Regions from separate parts of the Homo sapiens genome. Here region 1 is linked to region 2. The links are contacts of gene promoters, found by promoter capture Hi-C in human tissues and cell types (Jung and others, 2019). All regions are on one chromosome and are shown on one strand. The core of a region is centred on a gene start or on the middle of the fragment in contact, and the rest is flanking DNA. Distances in the headings are between cores, read along the strand shown. Region 1 overlaps TGFBR1 (transforming growth factor beta receptor 1). Region 2 holds the start of COL15A1 (collagen type XV alpha 1 chain).

The links. The method cuts DNA at HindIII sites, captures the fragments that hold promoters and counts their contacts. A contact is called where the count stands out against the background at its distance.
Region 1: a contact is called between a fragment that was not itself captured here and the fragment with the promoter of COL15A1 in region 2, in 9 of the 25 tissues and cell types used here (H1 embryonic stem cells, IMR-90 fibroblasts, adrenal gland and 6 more).

Annotation. Positions count from the first base shown.
Region 1 is chr9:99,124,501-99,128,296 of GRCh38, reverse strand. All of the region lies in intron 1 of TGFBR1 (transforming growth factor beta receptor 1), which reads right to left. Among named protein-coding and RNA genes, the nearest start is that of TGFBR1, 21 kb to the right of the region's middle. The HindIII fragment of the contact is 6,051 bases long and covers 1-3,796 here.
Region 2 is chr9:98,942,396-98,946,536 of GRCh38, reverse strand. It overlaps COL15A1 (collagen type XV alpha 1 chain), which reads right to left and starts at 2,630. Exons shown (of 42, transcript NM_001855.5): 1 at 2,465-2,630; 2 at 2,287-2,375. The coding sequence starts at 2,475. COL15A1-AS1 (COL15A1 antisense RNA 1) reads left to right here and starts at 1,885. Exons shown (of 1, transcript NR_198999.1): 1 at 1,885-4,141. The HindIII fragment of the contact is 13,688 bases long and covers 1-4,141 here.

The sequences.
Region 1 (3,796 bases), core at 322-2,821, 180 kb before region 2:
ACATGTATATTCTGGCCAGGACTGGGGCATTCTCTTAGGGAAGCCAAGCAGACTACACCTGTAACAATACATACATGCTCCAACCACATAGGCAACCTAACTACAGAAATGACTGGCAGCAAAATACTAGCTTCATGCCCACTTGTATCTACTTGATCTTTATGGCTCAACCCCAGGAGTGACCTCTTTAGGGAAGCCTTCTAATTATCACCAACACCTTCTCATACACACAGATACACCTTCAACCATGCTCTCTGATGAAGTTAAGTGCTCTCCAAAACACATACTGCTTACCAGAATTGCTAGTTTTGTTTTTCTTTCTCCTATGAAACTGTAAACTCCTTGAGGCCAGATACCTGTATTAGTCATTTCTGTCAATCTGCCATCTAACACCATGCCTCATGCACAGCAGCATTCAAAAAATACTTGTTGAATCACAATGATAGAATGTGTGCATAATTTCACCATGGTCACATGAAATTGCAAAGCACAGACATGTTCTTAAATCCAAACATTCCAATTACTTGTTGGCAAAGGAATAAAAAGGAGTCTAGGTACACGGAATGGCCATCTATGACGTGAACAGCAAGGTCCACTCTACCTAGAAAAGGAGTGGCTAGGCAGACAGGGGCAGGATAGACAGAGCTAACTCCCTGAAGAGCTAACTTGCTGTACAAGAAAGGGTTAACTCAGCAGGACTGAGTTGCTCAAACCCTGCATATTCCCAAGAAAGACTTGTCTTCAAAACTGGCCTTGGCTGGCTCCTGGTAGATGAGCTCTGAACCTTTGGAATATTCTCCCTGATAAGAATATTTCTGTATGCCTGAGGCCTTGGGTCACATGGTACCAATTTTGTCAGACAGCTTATTCTAACAATGTGATTTACAGTGAACACCTATTACTGCTGGGGGGCCGGGTAGGAGAAGTCTGAGGGGCTGAAGCCTGTCATGCAGATGCTGCAAGCCTAAGTGACTGACCAACAGTAAAAACCCTGGACACCAAGGCTCAAGCGAACTTCCCTGGTTGACAACTTCGTGCATGCTGTCACACATTGTTGTTGAGAGAATTAAGGCCATCTATGCTATGCCACTGGAATGGGACACCTGGAAACCTGTGTCTGATTTCTCCTAGACTTCACCCCGGGTGCCTTTTGCTTTTGCTGATGTTAACTGTATGGTTTTGCTGTAATACACTATAACCATGACTGTAACAGCTTTTCTGAGTCCTGTGAGTCCTTCTAGCAAACCAAGTCTGAGGATGGCCCTGCAGACTCCCAACTCACTTGCTCAACTCAAATTCAGGAATGTCAGGTTCTCCCTCAAGTAGCTGTTTCTTGGTTGCTGGCTTAATTCACATACTTGTCTATTATCTTTACAGACCAGTAAAGTTTTACCTTAATCATTATTAAAAACGCTTTCTTTATTCATAGACAGGTCAGCTATTTGCTTCCTAAGTATGAAAGAAACTCAAGGAAATGACAAGAAAGAGACACAATCGTAATAAAGACTGCTAAAAGAGACAGTAATTATTCATGACAAGGTGTGATGGTGATGGCTGTCTGGGTATGATTTCCTAAGGAGGAATTCTGAACCAGGAATTCATGGACTGGCTTCAGAGGTACATGAATCCCATAAAACTATAAGCCAAATGTTATATGTATTTACATTTTCAAGGAAAAGCTTTCCAAGTCAATCACAATGGAGTCTGTGACCCACAAAGCATTAAAACTACCACCGAAGGACATTGTCATAATTCTCTCCTAAATCCTCTTTACTCATGATTAGTCATTCAACCCATGTTTTCTAAGCATTACTTTTATCAGTTACTCTACCAAAAGCTTAGCACACAAAGATTAATAACTAATGGTCACAGCACTTGAAGAGCTCCAATGACAAGTGAAGGAGAACACTGTAATACAATGTGGTAACCGCTATACATAAAAAATATTGCCCTGAATACTCTCCCAGTTCTCAGATCACCATGGCTCCCCTATGCTGATGAGATAAGGGCTAAACACCTAGCCTAACAAGACTTTTAGTTTGGGGTTCCAATTTACTTCTCACATGGCAAATGCTATCTAGGGCCACACACCTCTCACCATTATAATAATAATGTCTTTCATGACCTTGGTCTTTACATATACCATCTCTCTGTCTAGTTTAAACCTATCTTCTTATCTGACTCATCCTTTAAGACCCTATTTCAACAGGATCTTTGCCATTATGTGCTCTAAACCTCGCCCTTACCTTCACAATAATTGGTATCTCCTTTCAATATGTTCCATAGTGCTCTTTGCATACCTTTAGAACAGCACAAATCAATCTATTTATAGCTTGCTGTTAAAGGGTCTTTCATTGCCTCAGGAAGGGCCAAGCTTGTTTTGTTTTTCACATCTCTGAATCCTGGCTCCTTAGATAGTGATCAGAAAAATATTTGCTAAAACAATGTCTCCCAAATATGCTGGGAGAAAAAAAGGATGTATAAGTTGGGTACAAGGTTTGAGAACATATTTTCACTTCAAAGATAATCTAAAAACAAGGATAAACATTCAAGATCATGAGTAGCCACTGTCTCAACACTGGCACTAGGCTTTCACTGCTGCTTCTTCAGCTGTGTGAAGATCCCCTTCAGGCCAAATGTCCTTGTGGCACACTACACACAGCATAAGTTTCATGGTCATTGTAAAAGAAAGAGTAAAAAATAAAGGGAATTTGAATCGACCATATGGCAATACAGGCATGGCATGCATATTCAAAAGCCAATAGCCTAACAGCCAATACCATATATGTACTTTATTATATGCAAGTGCTATATGGGTCCTACATGTGTAGTACAATTTGCAAACATTTGTTAGCAGTAAATATAATTGTAGGTATGCAATGTTTTTCCATTCTCATTTCCAGCAATAACTGGTTTAGAAAATCATTTAATGAAGATTTCAATAATGTCAAGATATTAACCTTATCTTCCAATGAACAAAATGGATGACATCTCAGTAAAACTTATAAGCCTGTATTTGAGGAATGCTTGCTGTCAAGTGTTTTGGTTAGGTATGATGTCTCATCCTGAACTTACCAACAAGGCCTTGAAGTCATTAATGCCCTCCTGCATAACATTACTGATGAGAAGAGGCACTACTCACAGCTTTTATTATCACTGAAGTTAAAATACAGAAACACATTTAAAATGGAATTAGACCTAAAGCTATTTTTTTCTACTGCAAAACCTAAACATCATCTGTCACATGGAATAATTGTATTCATTTGAATTTTGTTTTTTTTTGTAGTTGTCTTTGTATTTAATTTGCAGATTTGGTTTATAGTGGTGTATGAGCCAAGAACATAAGGGTTTTATATCTAGTTTCATGTCTACAGAATTTAAGTAACATTATGAAAAATACACTCTGTACTTCTCCTTTCAAAGAGGTCATTACATTACGGTAAATTTGAAAAAGTCAGTACTAAAGGGTTTTTCTTAACTACTCTTTCAATCAGAAGAGGTCACTAGACAAATAAAAACATCAAGATAACACAAAGCTTAACTAGGTAAAGATTTCTCTCTTCAGGGAATTAAAAAATTCCATTTCACCACTTGAAGTCAGTCTTGATTGACTACAAGACTGCTGTTATGTGATACGGCAAGATCGTTTAGGGAAAAACTAAAATAAGAACTTAATTTTTTCCATGAACATGAGTTTTAATTGCCATTTTTTTAAAAAATTCAAATTTATTTTATTAATAGATAGATTTGGCCCCTGGATACTGCCCCCCCCAACCTTTTATTCAACTAGGTTTTA
Region 2 (4,141 bases), core at 1,381-3,880:
AATTTACTTCTCAGCACTGCTGGGTGGTGATTCCAGGGACGTGGTGAAGGTGACATTGTGCTTTGAAGACTGCACAATGCCATGCAATGGACTCATGTTACAATTGTGACATTCAGATTGTGGGGCTCATTGGAGACCATGGAACCCCTAAAGCCTTCTCCATCCGTGAAGCTCTTCTAACTACACACTAGGATGGTTAAGAGCAAGGACTCTGGAGTCAGACTGTCTGGTTCAAATCCCACCCCAGCCACTTAGAAGTCTTGTGACTTTGGACCTCTGTTTCTTCATCTGAAAAACAGAGATAGTAACTGTTCTCAGTCCTCACCTCCTGGAGTGGTTGTAAGGATTGGATGAATGAAATATGAACATGTTCACACCTCCACCTGGATATACAAAGTGTTTTATAAGTATTAGGGATATTAAATTGCATTACAAATGCAGTTTGCAGGAGGATAGTTTACATTTTTAGGAATCGTTTCACATCCCCAAAGGGGCACTGAAAACCCATCAGTTGCAAATGGCCCTCCTTAGACCGTTCTCAGCTCCTGAAGGTTTGCTGGCCCTCCCTTTTTACATTATAAATGGGAATAGGGCTTCCTTTGTGTTAGAAACAACAGCCCTGACACTGAGGGATCCCAGAGACACACACAGGAGGAGAAAGAAACACCAAAGTTCCTATCCCCAGATCCATCTTCCTTTTGGGAAACTGGAAGTTGCAGCAAAGTTCACAAAAGACCATGGAACCCAAAGTTGGCCTCTGCCACTGAGTTGGCAGGGCCCTATATCATATGCAAAATTGCAACTTTCTGACATGAGCCATGGGGCTGAGAAGCTAAAACTATACTCCAGCTGCCCTTTGATCTGCAATAAATGCCAGGCTGGACACTCTGGCAGGAAAAGCTATCATCGGATTTGGGTCTTGTTGCCCAGGAGACAATGGGCTGTCTTGGGCTTCTTCAGGCAAACAAAGAGTTAACCAAGGCCACCTTCTCAATCCCGTTTCCTTTGGGCCGACTAGAGGTTGTTTCCTAGACTTTCTGTTCCCTTATTCAATTGAAGATGTGTACTAATCCCCCAAATTCAAAGGGGAGGGGGTCAGAAGCTATAGAAAGCATGGCTCTTCTGCAAAACTGCATGGAGAAAGAGCTGAGCAAGGGCAAGAGCCTACAGACCTGGATTCAAGTCCTGGCTTTTGGACTGGCCACTTTCTAAGCTTCTCTCAACCTCAATGTTATAAAAATACCTGCATTGCGATGGGATTAATAGAAGCCCAAACCTCAGCACCGTGCAATATACCCTTGTAAAAAACCACACATGACCACTCCCTGAATCTAAAATAAAAATAAAAATACTTGCATTGCTTTCCAACACATAGTTACTGCAAGAATCAAGCAGTAATTTCTATCACTTATTTTGTGCCTAGTATATACTGGAATCATGGGAAGCACATTATTTCTAATTTCTCTAATATTCACAACATTTCTAGGAAGGTAAAATGGTCTAATTAATCGCCTTTTTCAGATGGGGAAACTGAGGCACAGAGCGATGAAATCCATTGCCCAAGATCACTCAGCCAGCCACAGTTCAAACCCAGGCAGTCTGACCTTAACCGAGGCCCATTTTAACTTAGGTCTACTTTAACTTATATCTTACTATTCAGCCAACCGCCTGAGTTCTGCTGGAGAAACTGAGGCCCGGGGAACGGAAGGGATCAGATCTCTGGCTTCCAGGCCACAGCTCTTTCCACCACCGGTGGAGCCACTGCCCATGATAGACGTGACCGCTTAGGTAACTCAGAGCTGGGTTAAGCAACCGAGCAATTCAGTTCCGTTATTTCTTGAGCAGCAAAAGCCCCAGATGTCCCTCCCGGTGTTCATGCTTCGCACCTGTGTGCGGAGAGGCACCAGACCTGCCCTTACCAGAAGCCAGCCAGCACGCACAACCTAAGCTGCTGGCGCTGGGTGCGCTGAGGCTGTTGGCGCTGGCGCTGGCGCTGTTTCTGAAGTCCCTCTCTGCCTAAGATTGGAGGCTCCGCACCCAGCTCAGACATCTCGGGTGCCCAGACAACGCTCCAACCGCCCCAGCTGCCCAGGGATCCCATTCACAGCTATAACCCCTGCACTGCCAGGAGGTAGCCGCCCGCGGGACCGCCAGTGCGCACTGAGTGGCAAGACTCCCTTTTATGTCCAGGAATGAGGCACGCATCGCAGCCGCGTCCGCCGCCAAAACCGACTTCCCCCACGGGCGCGGAGGCAGCCGGTGCCACCCTCCGACCGGGTTGCTTACCTGTCGCACCGCGGGTCTGGGTGACAGCAGGGAGGGGCGTGGAGACCGAGAGCAGCATCAGCAGACACCAGCACTGCCCGTTGTTCCTCCTGCAAGATGTGCCCGAGGGAGAAAAGGTGAGGCGGGCAAGAGTATTGGAGGGGCCCGGGACGCGAGGAAGCAGAGAAGCGGGTCTTACCTTGGTGCCATCTCGCGGGTCTGCGGAGCCCCGGAAGGCGCGCGGCTAGTCGAGCAGAGCGTTGGAGCTTAGCGGAGGACGAAGGGTCGCTGAGCGCTGGCCGCCGCGCTCGCCCTTCCTGCAGGGAACAAAGGCGGCGCTCGGCAGCGGCGGCGGCGGGCAGAATCCCGGCTCCCGGCCCGCGCCCCGAGTCACCCGCGCTCTGAAACCCGACTCCGCCGCGCCCTGCGCTCCCCCGCGCGCTGCGCACTCACGCCCGGGGGATACCGGCCGCCCCGGCCGCCTCCCCACGCCCCTTTCCCCCTCGACGGACGTGCGCTCGCCTCTGCTGCCTCCACCCGCGGCTGCCTTATGTAACCTGCGAGGAAAGCCCCGCGCCCGCGTTCGTTGGGGCAAGCGGGATGGGCTCCCTCCCGCCCTTAAGTCTGTCCTGTCGGGGCTGACCCGCAAGAAAGCACTCTTTCACAGCCGCTGAGGGAATCCTCTCCACAGCCCAGGAAGGCTGGAATCAGTGATTTCCTTATATGATGGACAAGGAGACTGAGGCTCAGAGAGGTGGAGCGTATGTCCCAAAGTCCCAAGCTGCACTGAGCTCCTAGATGCTGTGACCCACCCTGCACGCCTGACACATGGACCGACTTGAATGCCCAGGAGTGGACCTGCCTGGGGGCCATAAGGGATACATACAACTAAATGCAGCAGAGATAATCCTAATAAAAGTTTTTAATGTACTGGATTCCAGGGCTTTCCTCCCTATGTATACCTTGCCTGCCCCCTTCATCAGAATGTAAGCTCCAGGAGGGCTTATCTGTGCTTTGTTCCCTGCCTAAAACAGCTCAGGTAGTAGGAGATGCCAATAAACGCTGGATGAATGAAGGAGCACAGTCTTGGGTGAGGCATCACACCAGGCCCTGTGATGAGATGTGGGGGTCATGAACCAGGCTCTGCCTCCGAAAGCCCTCAGTGGGAGTGAGGCGGTTCAGGGCAGACTAACCCATCTGTGCAGAGCTTATCGCAGGGCACTGGGTAAACCCTCAATGGTCGCTTTTTATTAAGATTACCACCCGGCACATAGTGTGAGATCTTGGAGTGAGAAGAGGCACCGCTGAAGTTGGCTGAGACCTGGACAGCTCTGAAGCCAGGTAAACACTAGAAACCTCTCTTCCTGAAGCACCAAGTAGCCACAGTGGGCCGTGGCTCTGTGGTCAGTTCCTGTGTTTGATTCAGTTCCACTCTAGAGGATGGGTCACCTCTTGCCAAGTGAGTTAGCCTTGCAGAGGAGATGGCATGGGAATGGATATAAGCAACTAATGCTTACTTGGTGTGGATTATGTCCCAAGCCCTCTGCTAAATGCTTTAGCTGTGTTATCTCATTTAATACCCACAACAGCCATGGAAAGGTGATACTGTCATGATCCCCATTTCATAGATAAGAAAGCTGAGGTTCAAAACATTCCAAGGCTAATGAATGGCAGATGCAACACCCATGCTCCTCCCCACTCAGCCATGCTGCCTGCCAGTAAGCAAGAAGATTAGACTCACTCTCCACCCTCAAGAGCAAAATCGCAGTGGAGACACAGAGCACTCGGATATGAAAGGGTTCATGCCAGCCTGGGCGGTGAGGGCTCAGAGGAGGGATGGTTGGCCTGGAGATCAGGAGTCTGGGTTCCAGTCCAA